Regions from separate parts of the Homo sapiens genome. Here all the other regions are linked to region 1. Evidence: promoter capture Hi-C in 16 types of primary human blood cells and fetal thymus (Javierre and others, 2016). All regions are on one chromosome and are shown on one strand. The core of a region is centred on a gene start or on the middle of the fragment in contact, and the rest is flanking DNA. Distances in the headings are between cores, read along the strand shown. Region 1 holds the start of HMSD (histocompatibility minor serpin domain containing). Region 2 overlaps SERPINB5 (serpin family B member 5). Region 3 overlaps SERPINB13 (serpin family B member 13). Region 4 overlaps SERPINB12 (serpin family B member 12).

Region 1 (3,873 bases), core at 1,118-3,617:
TCAATAATGGATGCATTGCTTTTTTTACACGTCTGTTTTTCCTTATGTCACTATTGCCTTCCCCTCTTTTCTTGTTTTCACTTTTTAAAAATCTATGGCAAATTCCCCTCCCACCAAATATTCTACAGATCACTCAAGCTCTTTCAGTAATTTCTTCGTATGCTCAACCACATATGAGTAATCTATCACTCCCATTTCTCATCTCCCACAGTTTCCCCCCTGCTGGTGAGTGCAGGTTTATTTAGTCTGTAAGATTTTCATTCCCGAAGCAGAATTTTCATAAACAGAGACCAATTTTTTCTATTATTATACCTTATTTAGTCAATGATCAATTAATTTCTTGTTAATTTGGTAAACAAATTGTTTTCCTTAAACTTTAAAGCACACTGCTAACACAGCAAATACGTTATTTTAAACATTTAAGCATTGATGATAAAGCTTAATGTATCAGATGTTTTAAAGATGTAATCACTTTAAAGAACAAACTTACAAAATTAACAACTATATCATTAATATAAGCATTTGTACAATAATAAACTGAATAAATCAACACTTATAAATCTGTTAAACTAGATTCTCCTAAGACTTTCAAACATGTTTTAAAATACAACTGTACAACAGTGATTATAAAACTTATTTCTAGCACCCCACTAGTAATACTGTGGGTTTTATACACTTTATCTTCACTCTATCTTTTTATATTTCCTAGGGTGATGGTAATGCTTATTTTAATACTTTTCTGGGGTTAAATTAATAACAGACCATCTCCTATTCACAAAAACAATAGGATGGGGCTGCCAGATTGATGGTTGGGACATGGGCTCTGACTGACCTGACACTGCTACTTTTCAGGTCATACTGCTTTTTAAAGCCAAACAAATGTAAGGACCATTTTGCAGTTTGGTCCTACATTGGGATTTTGCAAAGACAACTATTAAATTTGCTTTTTTCTTTTTTTTGCCAAATGCCTTTCCTTGAAATGAAATACTATTTGAGGTTCTCGTGCATCTGATTTGCGTAACACAGAGTTCTATCCACAAGTTGGCTTTCAAAGTCTCCTGGTTTAATATTTAGGCCTTCAGGTTGGTTTTTGTAACCACTGTGCCTGTCAACCTAGGTGCCTATAGTCACTATTCCTACACAGCAGTCGTATATGAATCATCACACAGCATTTCTTGTAAACATTATTGAAATTATTTCCTGCCTCCTTTAAACTCATCTTACATTTTTTTTTTTTTTTTTTTTTTTTTTTGAGAGAGAGTCTCGCTTTGTCCCTCAGGCTGGAGTGCAGTGGTGCAATCTTGGCTCACTGCAACCTCTGCCTCCCAGGTTCAAGCGATTCTTCTGCCTCAGCCTCCTGAGTAGCTGGGACTACAGGCCCATGTCACGACACCCGGCTAATTTTTGTATTTTTAGTAGAGACTGGGTTTCACCATATTGGCCAGGCTGGGTCTCGAACTCCTGACCTCGTGATCCGCCCCCCTCAGCCTCCCAAAGTGCTGGGATTACAAGCGTGAGCCACCGCGCCTGGCCCATTTTACTTGTTTTATCTGAATTTACTAAAGGACTCTTTCTTGGCTTTGTTGTAACATGTATTTCAATTAACACATACTGGTTTTTGTTCTTGAGCAAATTCTCACAACTTGTCTACTGGGAATCTCTGTAAATTGGTTACTTTCTTTTTACACTATCCCAACACTTTTGCTTTCTGGCAACAGTATCGTCCTCATTTTGATTTTTTTCCAGTCCAAAAACATACTATCAACGCCTCTCCTGGTTTCTTTTAAAGGAGGAGGAATGTCAAGTACAAATTCTGAATACTGAGAGCATACGAGTTTCGGTACCGACAAATAAATACTGCTGCTGTTGTTTTTCCTGGAGGTCCCAGGCCTCACAGCCCCTTCCAGCGCCCAACATAAACTTCACCAGGGTGGGAGGCCTCATTGTACCTACTTCCAGCTCCTGCAGGATGAGTGGAGCCCAGGCAGGACTTTCACCCCCCAGCTCCGCGCCCATTCGCCCTGGCCTCCCCTCCCCGCGCCTGGACCCATAGGGCACACAGCCAAGTGCAGCCAAGTCCCTGCCCTTAGGGAGCCCCCGCCAGAGACCGAGTAAAGAAGGACAGCCCCAGGGAAAGGTCTGGAGCAACAGGTGCGCTGAGCACTTCACTGGGCTTCCCTTTCGTAGGTTCCCGCCCTTTTCCTGGGCTCAAGAGCAGGTAACGAGAATCCAGCGTGTGGGAACCACTCCCAAAGTCAAACACCTACCCCAGTTCTCCGCGCAGCTGCCCAGGAGCGAAGTGAGACCGGGTCGGAGAGGCGGGAATAGAGATGTCTGAGCGGCGCCGGGTGTTAGTTCCCAGTGAATGGGGAGGCGGGCGGAGTCGGGCCCAGCCAGGCACCACCTAGCGGGCGCCTGGGCAGGAGGGCGGGGCGGGTCCCGCAGGCCGCGGGGATCTCCTGATGTGCAGGAAGTGGCCAATCTCTGTGCAGGAAAAAGCCCCAACTGTCCGGGAGTTTTCAGTCAAGAAGCGATAATGCGCTTTGGCTATTTGGGGTTTTTCGTGGTTCCATACAAATTATAGGGTTTTTTTTTTTTTCTATTTCTGTGAAGAATGACATTGGTATTTTGACAGGGATTGCATTCAATCTGTAAATTGTTTGGGTAGCATTGTACTTTTAACATTAATTATTCCAACCTATGAGCATGAATATGTGTCCATTTTCTGTGTGTGTTCTTCACGTTTTTCTCATCAGTGTTTTATAGTTGTCCTTGTAGAAGTCTTTCACTTTTTTAATTAAATTGATTACTAGGTATTTTATACATCATATTTCTTATAGCTATTGTAAGTGGGATTTCTTTCTTGATTTCTTTTTCAGACTGTTCACTGTAGATGTATAGACATCTTACGGATATTTTATATCCATTTTGTATTCTGCAACTTTACTGATTCATTTATTAGTTCTAGTAGTTTTTGAGGGGAGTCTTTTGGTTTTTCCGATTATAAGATTATACCATTGGTGAGCAAAGCTAATTTTACATCTTTCTTTCCAGTTTGGGTGTCCTTTGTTTCTTTTTCTTGCCTAATTGCCCCGGCCAGGACTTCCAGTCAGATACTGAATAAAGGGGGTGAAACTGGGCATCCTTGTCTTGTTGCAGATCTTATAGGAAAGGTTTTCAATTTTTCCCTGTTCAGTATGATATTAGCAGTGGGTTTTTCATTTTGGTTTTTATTGTTTTGAGGTATATTCCTTCTATACCCAATGTGTTAAGGATTTTTATCATAAAGAGATGTAGGATTTTACTGAATACATTTTCGGCATCTATTGAAATGATCGTGCAGTTTTTGTTGTTGGTTCTTTTAATGCAATGTATCGCATTTATTGATTTGTGTATATTGAATCATACTTGCATACCCGGGTGAATCTCACTTGATCGTGGTGAGTGATCTGTTTAATGTGTTGTTGAATTGGAGTTGCTAGCAATTTTTTGAGGATTTTTTCTGTTTTTTACCTGTTGATATGACGGATTCCTTTGATTTTCAAATGTTGAATTAGTCTTGTACACCTGCAATCAATCTTACTTAGTCACAATGTATAATCCAACTATTTTACACATAGTTTGATTTCATTTGTGAATATGTTGTTCAGGATTTTGCATCTATACTAATGAAAGATATTGGTCTTTAAGTTTCTTTTCTTCTAATGTCTTTGTCTGGTTTTGTTATCAGAGTAATTCCAGCCCTATAGAATGAATTAGAAAGTAGTTCTTCTGCTTCTATCTTCTGAAAGAGATTTAGAGAATTGGAGTAAACGTTTTCTTAATTTGTTTTTAGAATTTACCAGTGAGCCCATCTGGGTCTGGTAATTATTT
Region 2 (3,778 bases), core at 1,166-3,665, 460 kb after region 1:
ATATTATCTAGTGATTGTCTTTCCACTTCCCACCCCAACTAGAATACAGTCAAGGCAGAAACTAAGTCTCATTTTCTACCCCAGCTTGTAGTTTCTCACTGAATATTTGGCTGATAAATAATGGAAGACTTCAACTCTATGTGTAACCAAAAACAGAATTATAGGAAAACATACTACTTTGGAGGTTAACAGATAATTCTTCCCTTTATTTCTCCTAAAGAGGATATTGTCTTAAAATATATTCCTCCTAAAGAAATTTGTCTAAAAATCTCCAACAGGTTAGACTGCTCATAGTTTCTGAATGTGCACATAGTTGTGGCCTCCAAAAACTGTCATCAATTTCACTTATCGGCACTGACTACAGGTACTTTATTTTCTGAAACACATGTTGAGACGACATATCTTCTGAAAAGAGGACCAAATAAAGACTATCTACCCCAGAAAATATAATACAACATATATACTAATATAGATATATATGGATAGATATCTTTATCAGAATAAGTACTATACTAAACTTTTAATGATATAACTTCACCAATTTAGTCTAACCCTTACCGGAGACACCACGGGGCATAAGAAAAGGTTTAGTAATGTCACTCAAAAAGTTCTAGGGTGGACAAAGCAATTCAAAGAAAACAAAGGAGAAGTAATAGCATCTGCATTCAAAAGAAGGGTGTAGCCTCATGCAGCTGTGAATAGCATTTTATTGCTTTATCAAGTGAAACACTGAGAGATCAATGACATTTCAAACTTTTATTAATTCTGTTCATAAAGGCTGAGTTTCCAGGATCTTATATAACCCAGCTTTATGATTTAATAGCAAGAATAAAGGAATAGCACACATTCTTCCTCCCTTCTCAAAAAACACACGTTAATACTTTCTTAATGAAAAAAGTACGACCCTTAGTGTGGTTGACACAAAAGTCCACATTCTACTCATTGACTATTGCAACATTTTCATGGTGTTCCTTCCAGGCTGGCTCTGGGGTCTTGAAGAGAGGCACCATTGGCAACCTGTTTCAGATTTCACTTAAACAGAGTTAGGAACCCTTTGCCAGCCCTTGCTATGGAGGAGAGCCAATCACTAATCAAAGGAGCCAGAAGGGTCACTCTATGACAGCAAAGGCTGTGTGGATGCCGTCAGGGCCAGTGGGGCCAACACCCCTCCCTAACTCACAGTAGAGGCTGGGTAAAGTCACGTTCCACTTCCACTCCAGATAAAAGACAATACTGAGAAGGTCAAAAAGCCATGCTTAAAACTCAAGGACCTGTGTGTGCAAAACACAAGAGTGTGAAGAGCATAAGCTATGTCTCTAGAATCTCAGACAGACCTCTTGTGTGCAGGGTCAATCCTGTCTCTGCAGTCAGCTTTGAGAAGACCACTGCAGTTGGGAAGCTAAACTCAGGAAGTTAGGAGGACCTCCTACCCATCCCTCAGCTCCCATGGATATTTTGAGTTGGTAAGGAGCAGTAACAGTCATCATTGTCTTCTCCCAGTGAAAATGCCCAATGGGTCTTGCATAGGAAACCATGGTAGTCCCAAAGGCCAGTCAGGTTTTGTCTGCTATTGATTGTTTAAGCAAACTGACCCTTAGGGACTGATCATTCATTCAGCAAATTTGCTGAGCACCTACTGATGTGTTAGGGACTTGGCCAGAAATTGTAGACACTGAGGTGAATAAGGCATTGTCCCTACCTTAAAAATCCCATGCGCTAGTAGGGGATCTATGTAAGTAAACAGATTTCACTGTGGAAAAGCAAATTCTGGCAGTGGACAGGGGAGAGTATGAATAAAAATTCCATGGGAACAAAGAAAGAAAGAGTAATGGAAGCCATCCGGCTAACCCAGGCATAGATTGTATCTTGCAGGGCTTTTCCTCATGGATGCTAGCATTAAGAAGGTGCTACTATATTTGGCAAAAACAAGATATTGATGCTAAGTACTCTAACTACTGGGAGAAGCATGAAAACTAGAACTGACGCGTAGGAGCTACAGGTAACTAAGCTACCTTCAAGTATTGTACTAACTGAAGTGCTGCTTCCAGTCTAACACAAGTCAGATCCCACCCACGGAGACCACATCACATCATCATATAGATGTCTGGGTTTTCCAATAAAATGGGTCAAATTTCCAGTCTCAGTTCCTTGATCTCATTTACAAAAGAGGTACTTTACCCATTTCTTTTTTTTTTTTTTTTTTTTTTTTGAGATGGAGTCTCACTTTGTCACCCAGGCTGGAGTGCAGTGGCACAATCTCAGCTCACTGCAACCTCTGCCTCCTGGGTTCAAGCCATTCTCCTGTCTCAGCCTCCTGAGCAGCTGGGATTACAGGCACATGCCACCATGCCCAGCTAATTTTTGTATTTTTAGTAGAGATGGGGTTTTACTATGTTGGTCAGGCTGGTCTCAAACTCCTGACCTCGTGATCTGCCTGCCTCGACTTCCCAAGGTGCTGGGATTACAGGCATGAGCCACTGTGCCCACCCTCTATTAATTATTTAACATATTTACTTCAACAGTATCAATGAGACTGGCCTGCAAAACAGGCCCTTAATTCTTCCCATAATGACTTCCAGTGATGTCAATGAGTAAGCCATACTTTGTTTTTTCACAGCCAACAAGTGCCTGAAAGCATCTGGTCTTGTTGTTTGTTTGTTTGTTTGTTTTTCTTGAGGTGGAGTTTCACTCTTGTTGCCCAAGCTGGAGTGCAGTGGTGCAGTCTCGGCTGACTGCAACCTCTGTCTCCCAGGGTCTGATTCTCCTGCCTCAGCCTCCCATGTAGCTGAGATTACAGGCACCCACAACCATGCCCAGCTAATTTTTGTATTTTTAGTAGAGACAGGGTTTCACCATGTTGGCCAGGCTGGTCTCCAACTCCTGACCTCAGGTGATCTGCCCTCCTCGGCTTCCCAAAGTCATGGGATTACAGGCATGAGCCACCACGCCCAGCCATCAAAGCATCTTATAAATTATAAATTAAAATCCCAGAACAATATACTTCGCTATCAACCGATAAGGAAATGAGATGTTAGAGAAGTTAATCAATCAGGAACAAGATTCCTAGATGTCAAGGTTTCATGATAATCCAAAGTCCTCTGATAACAGAGTTTGGTCTTTTCCTTTTCTGCTAAAGTTCTCAGATGTTTGTAGCTATTTTTCAGCTGGTGACTTAGCTTTCCTCGCTGGGTTACAAATTCTATAAAGTTTCACTCAGCTCAGATCCTTGAAGACATTATGGAAAAGAGGAGGGGGGGCCTCTGGATTCTGGCTCTTTTTGTACCACTTACCTTCCAGCTGTTCATCTCAGGAAAGGCACTTTGCCGGCCGTGCCCTCAGGTTCCTCATTGGAATGGATTTATGCCCCACTCTGTCCCTATCATTTTTCACATCTATAATTGGGCTCCTTTTACTGCTACATGCTGCCCCACATACCTTGTTGACTCTGAAAGGACATTCTTTTGTTTCTGATTCAGAAAATTTCTTCATCCACTTGCCAACAAAGTAGGCAGCATTAACCACAAGGATTTTGGTCTGGTCGTTCACACTGTTGTCAGCTAAAATGTTCTCAAAGTGGCCTGCAACAATTTTAGGAAAACACAAGTAGCAGAATTATTCTTCCAAACTACATCTGAAATTCACATGCATATTCACTGAGTATTTACCACTTCATGGAGTCACACCATGTAAGGCCTGATGGTTCCAACCATCAAATTTCAGAAGGACTCCTTTCTCTCCTTCTACCTTGACACAACCAGATCTACCAAAGAGGTCAGCA
Region 3 (3,506 bases), core at 675-3,174, 360 kb after region 1:
GACCCCCAAGATATTGTGATCCATGGCTATGTGTAAACAGTTCTCCAGCAAGCGTTTCCGTGCATTTGGCTTCATGCAGTCCCCTCACTGGCTCCCCTTGGCCGCTCCACATTTGCTGAAATTGCTCCACCATCTGCAGTGCCTTCCCTACCTCCTAGGCCTGGGCTTGCCCTTCCAACCCTGCAAAACCTATCTCAAGTCCCTTCCCAAAGCTTGTGCACTGCATGGCACCCCACGCAGTGACAAGTCCAGGGCTTCATTCACAGCAGGTTGTCAAGAAGTGTTTTTTGTTTGTTTGTTTCTTTGTTTTTGTTTTTTTGCAATGAATGACCCACCCATACTCTACCATTTGTTTTGCTTTCAACCCAGGAATTAATCTTCTTTCGACTTTCATCGGCTGCATTTACAAAATCAACAGGTTCCAGAGATGCATGATAATATTTTTCAACATAATCTAAGTATTTCTTTAGGAGAAACAAGGAAGGAATAAAAAGAGGTTAAAAACTCAATTTATCAATTGCCAACATCTCTAAATAAATTTATGTATACATTAGGATGACTAATACAGTAAGAGAAATTTTAAGGCCCTGGGCATCTCACATTGAGTTCCTGCTGCACATTTTTATGCAGCTATTCTGGGGATGAGGCAAAAATCAGGTTCAGATTGCCAGGACTAAAAAGGAACTCCCTGCAGTTCTGAATATCTGTAGATCAGGATGGAAAAGCACCACAGGGATGTGGCCAGAGCCAGGCAGCACGACTTCAGGACCCATAGTCCTACCAGGGCCATTTGGCCATTCCAGAATACCACTCACAGATATGGTAGGCATGGCAAACTTACTTGAAGGAAGAGGTATGTTTTTTCTCCAAACAGCCTGTTGGTTATGTTCAGTTCATAATCATTAGTGAGTTTGCTTATTTCAGTCAAAAACTTTTGGAATTGTTGATGTACTGCTTCTGTGTTCTCAATCTTGAAAATTAAAACAAAATCTCAACAGGTTATCTTGGCAAAAGCAAGCCCAGATTCTCCCCTAAGAGGATGCGGCTGCTGGGTCTCTCCCTCCGTTTGTCAGCCTCAAGGGTGATCCCTGTGTTTGATGTGGCCCCTGGATATCAGGTAGCCTTTACCCAAGTCATATGATAATGTCAGTTATGACCAATCTCAGCTCCAGAGAGAAGCCTTCTCTGCCAGCCCAACACCACAGATCTTGCATTTATAACTCAAGTTGTGGGCTTTTTTGGTCTCAAATAAAAGTGCTCACTAAATGTTCAATAAGCTTGTTTTTAGCTCCCCACAAGATTCTAAGCATCTAAGGAAAGTAAGTGATTTCTCCGGACGATTCTTATCTATTGAAGTTTGGAAATTTTTCCAGATAGTGAATAAGAAGAGTGACTCCTAATGGTATGAGTCACTACACATTGGGCTGAAGTGAGATTTATCCTTGTCTCCAGGGGAAAAAAAAAATTTTCTGAATATTTTATGTAGGACCCATCAGTTTTCTGATTGAAGTTTTCATATTCTATGTTACCTTAACGACATATCTAGAATGTCATTATTTCAACATATAAATACAATAAATATTAATTACATATTAATATATAAGATACATATTTCAGCAAAAATAATACATGAAAATTAATATTTTGTATTCCTTTCTCATACTAAGTTCTTAAAATATAATATGCATTTTATACCTATAGCACATCTGGATTCAAACTAGATGTATTGCAAGTGTTCAATAGCCACTTGAGTAGCTACTATACTGGATAGCTTGGGACTGGATAAACTCTCACCCAGGCAAATTAGGAGGCTGGCATTAAAAAGGCCATTTTTGCATTGTTTGTAGAAGGAAGGAAGGAAGGAAAGAAAAAAGGAAGGAAGGAGGGAAGGAAGGAAGGAAGGAAGGAAAGAAAAAAGGAAGGAAGGAGGGAAGGAAGGAAGGAAGGAAGGCCGGCCCCATCAACAAAATAAATGAGGAAATAGCTATAAAAATGAATCAAATAGAGCTATAAGTATCCCCTTAAAATAGATGAATCTTATAAACATGATGCTAAGCCAAAAATAATCAAGTTCCAAAGAAGAATGACAAAAATATATGGCATGTAATGAAATAATAAATACGTGGGAATAATGAACACCTAATCCACAATAGTGGGACTTCCTCTCTGAGGAGAGGATGGGGGCGTGCTCAAGGAAGGTGTTATACATCAGCCTAAGGGGCATCAGCTGATTTGGTAATAGTTTATTTTGTACACTTAAAGGAGGGGTTAAAGTGTGTTTATTGCATTTTTCCTTATACCTTTTGTACATATGTCTTGAGATTTTATCAGCATTTTTTAAAAGCAAGATTCAAAATACTCTGAATTTACATAATAATCAAACGGGTACATGCCAAGCCAGTCTCTGGGCAAACTATTAAATGAGGAGATTGGAGTAGATGACCTCTAAGATGTATTCCAGTGCTAATATCCTTTCAGTCAGTAATTCTATTCTCTTCATACCCCTGTGGCTCCCAGGAAAATTCTGGGGAATGGGCAAAACTGCTAGACAGCATGTATGTGTAAGCTTTGCCTTACACAAAGCTGAAATTCAGTTTCCACCCCAGTCATCTAGCCCTTCACATAGGAGTAGGGCAGCTATCCAAAAGAATGAGCTGTTTTCTAATTTGCACAAAGGTTCTACATGGGCTATCATGGCTGAGAAAGAATGTGCTCTGAAGACAACTGCACTTCTCAGTTGAGGGAACATTGCAGTGGCCATATGACCCAACTTGGTTGCGCAAACCCTGAAAGGAAGCCTGACCCTCCACAGGAGCAACTGAGCCACCCACACGACCTAGCCTTTTGGGGTTGTGAAATGAGCAGCTCCTATTGCTGGGTGATCTGAGCCATGGTTTTATGAGGGTCTGGAATTGCACTATGACTACTGTCAGAGCAGCTGTGCCCTTCCTGAGAGTGCTAACGTCTGATCCTAGCCCCGACCTAATGGGCTTATTCCTTTCCCATATTTGAGTAGACTCTCCTTTGGATGGCGAATACAGGAACACTGGAGCTGGAAAAGACCTCAGGAAGTCATTGGGCCTGTAATAATTTTTTAAATACAACATCAGCACGGGGTTAAAAATATGAGTGGAGTTTAGCAATAATATCACCTACTGCTACTACCACCACCACCACTGGCTCAGTTGCCAGATGCCCCTACTGCGGACTTTACAGAGGCTGAAAGAAGATAAATAACTTGCCCAAAGTAGCATCGCTCTTAAGTGACTGAGCCAGGACTTGGACCTAAGTCTGTTTAACTCCAAAACCCATCCACTCTGCTATGGGAACTTTTCTGTCTATTAGCCTTTACCAGTTCTATCATAGCGGTATTGTCCATTACACCTAAGGTCTCTTCTCAATATTAAGGGGTTATTATTATTGTATAATCCTTACAACAATATTTGTCTATGGTGATTATTATTGCTTAATAGTAAAGCAACAATATTGCTTTCATGCCTTTCTCA
Region 4 (3,802 bases), core at 745-3,244, 400 kb after region 1:
AACTGTTTTTTCCTATATATAGTAGGAAGAAAAATATTTATACTCCAAAAATATTTCATGTCTTATAATTTCTATAATTCCCACAAAGCTACTAACAACTCAAGAATGAAATTCAAACTTTACACAAATAGATGCTATTCTGCTGGAACAAATATTCAAACCAGGTTACAGCAAACTAAATAATAACCAATATCTAAAAACAAAGAAATACTTGTGAACAATACCATCGAAAGTGTTTTCCAACTTATGGTGCAAAAAAAAAAAATCTAACTCACATTGTTTAAAATATAGATATTCTAAATATTATACCATCTTATGTTTCAGAAATAATTCATTAAAAGATAAAATACAATATGTCAAGTATGTGAAAGTTTAAAAAGTTATTCAAACATCTACATTTTAAAAAAATCAATCATATACATCAGGCATCTGACCAGGTGGTTGGGGCTGAGCGAGGTGACAAGCATTGTTAATATCTCCCAGTGATGACTGCCACATCTGCAGAAAATCCAAAACATCATAAAACTAACTCACTTTTTTTAAGTATTTGACTTAATAAAAACAAGTATATCCTTCTATTTCAATCACATCTCCTCTGGGTTTCTATCCTTTAAAATGGTTTTCCAATTCAGTGTTCATTGTTAAAAATTATATCAGGCAATTCGAGCATTTACCTTCTTGCCCTCAGAGTTGCTGCTAACAGCTGGTCAGGTAAGCTTCCCTCCACACCCTGTCGGGAATGGAAATATATCAACTTTGCCCCTCCCTCTGTGGAACTTTTCCAGTGCCATTTTGGAATCCAGAGTAAAATCATCATTGATAGATTAAAGGGAAAAGAAAAGAGTGGCATATATTTTTAAAACAAATGCTATGCTTTTAACTACATTGAATATTTAACTTAATATGCTTATATTTTCTTTGCTCTTTCCAATTTTATAGAGCCCTCAAAGCAATACTTGGCTCACACTTTTCAATTCAAATTTCTATACTAGAAGACCATGAAGCAGAAATGTATTTTACTTCATATACACATTGTCTTAGATGATTTCTTATATTTGAATTTTTGCATTATTCTAAAATCTTTCTAAGTTATTACATAGGATTTGCAAAATGTGCTCTAAGCTACTTCAAAGTTTTTGCTTTCCTGCAGTAGGTGTGTGGTAGGGATGAGAATTATTATTTGATTATTGACACACATATTTTACAACTGAAAACACAAAACTTTTTAAACTTAGCCAAAGCATGTTCTGATGTTACTTTTGGTTCTAGCACTCTACAATCGTGTTATGTTACTGACTGTAAACATGAGGGTCAGTGGATAGGGCAAAAAGTGTGGAGCAACTAGGAGAAAGCTAGGAAGAGTCAAACTCCAGGAACTGACATGTCTTAAGGACAAACGAGGACCCCTCTCTGACCTGGTTCTCCTACTGAGCCCTTTATCTTCCTTTTCTAACTTGTTGTCAGACAACAATATTATCTGAACCATGACCCTACAAATACATTAGGTGTAGAGAAATTCAAAGGAAAACTTTCTAAAATGGAGAGATGGCCTTTATGGAAAATATAAACTACTTATGTAGCTAGTGTATAAATAAAACAAGTTTTATAAGATATTGACCAGTGGAAATTAATGACTAAGCATCCAGAGTTTTTCTGAATTATCAATAGTAAGCATAGAAAAGAAACGTGCTGTTAGTTTTCTTTACTCCTTGATCATTTGAAAATAATTATTTTTTTTTCTAAATTCTTCCACAAAATTCTAAAAACCAGTCTAGTCATTGGTTATGATTTGCAAGAGTTTGGAAAATTTTAACACGTGAATTATTTAATATTTTATGTCATTGATTACTACTTCATGTTGCCCATCATAGCCTTTCCAAAAGGGTATACCATTCATATTCAGAACAGGATGAGTTCTTGCCTGGCTTCCTGGAAGTAGGTGTCACATCTGTTACTGTTGGGGGATAATATTCAAATTTCACTGGGCTTCTGGGTACCTGAGAAGAGTATAAACTTGTTTGAATGTCTTTAATCTAGATTTGCATCTGTTTATCCTCTTAAATAATTCAACAAAGATCTAACTACAGATGACTGTGCCCTACAAGCCTAAAAATTTGGTGTGGTGCGATTGCTCAATGAGCGAAGATGAAATCTGACACTAAATGTAGCTAAACATTAAGGTAGCTTGATAAATCACTAACAAGGGGATGAGAATTTCTTGAGCACTTACTAAATGTCAAGCTGCATTTGGTACTTTACACATGTAATATATCACTGAATGGCTGAAGAAAGCGAGCCTCTCTAGTACCCGTGACTTCAAGTGCCAGAGAATTACACTAGGGTTTGAAAGAAATTTGGAGGTCAACTAGCCTGACAGTGCTATTCAAGGCAAGCTAAAAAAAAAAAAAAATAGTTCTATGTCAACAGGCCGTAAAAATAATGTTTACTTCATCAAGTATAGAGCTAGATGATTCCTCCTAGGTATGTTACAACTCAGCAAGAATTATGAGCCAATCAATAAATCTTTCAGCAATTAGCCTTTTTCTGCCTAGAATTAAAAATTTAAGGAGGCCAGAATGATTCAGCAATCAAAGTCTTTGCCAGTTTATGATGCAAAATGATATGATTAATATTCCCCTACTGATAAAGGCAGTATTTTTGAAATATTACAAAGGGGCTCTTTGTCATTTAATTTTAAAACCCAATATTGAGAAAAGAAAACATGTTTATAGGAAAAATATCAGCATAGACACTTTCAACCTAATGAAAAAATGCATCTTTTATCTAAAGCAGACAGTTTTCCTGATGTTTATCTTGTATCCTCCAAATTTAAGAGTCTTATAACACATAAAAAGAGGAAAAAATCTATTAAAACAACAATAAAGACTAAAACACAAACTCATTTCAAAACTTGCAATCACTCTTAAGATATCCAAAGCCCTTAGTTCTTTCAGCTTCAAAACTGACATCTCCAGGATTGAAAAAATGTCAGCTGTCCACCCCAATATGACAGAGACATAGAGATCAAAGACAGGCAAAGCTATGAGACAGCAAAGAACACATAGAAAAAGCAGTAAACTTGCAATCAGAAGAAGCAGGCCCTGGGCTGAATCTTACTAGCCTGAGACCTCAGGCAACTACATCATGAAAACTTCAATTTTCTCGCCCTTAAAAAAATAAGAATAATAATATGGTTTTCCAAGCTCTTATGTGTTTACAACTATTCACGTTTTTAATATAATTACATAGAATTAGTATTGCACAAAGCTTTATTTTCTTAGCCAAATCTTTATAACATTATCTATTTCTTCCAAAACTGTAAATGAGGACTTCATCCTTCAAATCATGGCTTACAAACTACAGCCTGCAGGCCAAATCCAGCCCTCTGCCTGTTTTTGTAAATAAAGTTTTATTGGAACGAAACACATCCATTCATTTATTACTGTCTATGGCTGCTTTTGCTCTACAATGACAGAGTTGAACAGTGGTAGTGGAGAAGAAATCACATGGCCTGCAAAGCTGCAAATATTTACTATCTGTCCCCTTACTGAAAAGTTTGCTGATCCCTGCTTTAAATGATGAAATACCATGGTTTTTAAAACCTTTGAAGTTTTTATATCCTAGATATATAACCTCTATTTACATACAATAAATATTGTAATATGCTAACAAGAAACATATTTTCTTAAATCTAAAATGTACATTTTGCCCGGGCGCAGTGGCTCACACCTGTAAACCCAGCACATTAGGAGGCTGACACCAGCAGATCACTTGAGGTCAGGAGTTCAAGACCAGCCTGGCC

Evidence for each region. Contacts are between HindIII fragments. The CHiCAGO score rates a contact against its expected background, and 5 or more counts as called.
Region 2: a contact is called between a fragment that was not itself captured here and the fragment with the promoter of HMSD in region 1, in 1 of 17 cell types (naive CD4 T cells). The highest score is 5.3, in naive CD4 T cells.
Region 3: a contact is called between a fragment that was not itself captured here and the fragment with the promoter of HMSD in region 1, in 1 of 17 cell types (monocytes). The highest score is 5.9, in monocytes.
Region 4: a contact is called between a fragment that was not itself captured here and the fragment with the promoter of HMSD in region 1, in 2 of 17 cell types (non-activated CD4 T cells and naive CD8 T cells). The highest score is 6.1, in non-activated CD4 T cells.

Annotation. Positions count from the first base shown.
Region 1 is chr18:63,947,795-63,951,667 of GRCh38, reverse strand. It overlaps HMSD (histocompatibility minor serpin domain containing), which reads right to left and starts at 2,367. Exons shown (of 4, transcript NM_001123366.2): 1 at 2,268-2,367. RefSeq lists an enhancer at 78-167 and a silencer at 2,300-2,529. The HindIII fragment of the contact is 6,685 bases long and covers 441-3,873 here.
Region 2 is chr18:63,492,753-63,496,530 of GRCh38, reverse strand. SERPINB5 (serpin family B member 5) reads right to left here. Exons shown (of 7, transcript NM_002639.5): 5 at 3,436-3,578. Among named protein-coding and RNA genes, the nearest start is that of SERPINB5, 18 kb to the right of the region's middle. The HindIII fragment of the contact is 6,711 bases long and covers 1-3,778 here.
Region 3 is chr18:63,589,812-63,593,317 of GRCh38, reverse strand. SERPINB13 (serpin family B member 13) reads right to left here. Exons shown (of 8, transcript NM_012397.4): 4 at 842-970; 5 at 347-464. Among named protein-coding and RNA genes, the nearest start is that of SERPINB13, 4.2 kb to the right of the region's middle. RefSeq lists an enhancer at 3,490-3,506. The HindIII fragment of the contact is 1,289 bases long and covers 1,280-2,568 here.
Region 4 is chr18:63,543,822-63,547,623 of GRCh38, reverse strand. The region is part of intron 1 of SERPINB12 (serpin family B member 12); the gene reads right to left. Among named protein-coding and RNA genes, the nearest start is that of SERPINB12, 3.4 kb to the right of the region's middle. The HindIII fragment of the contact is 2,551 bases long and covers 719-3,269 here.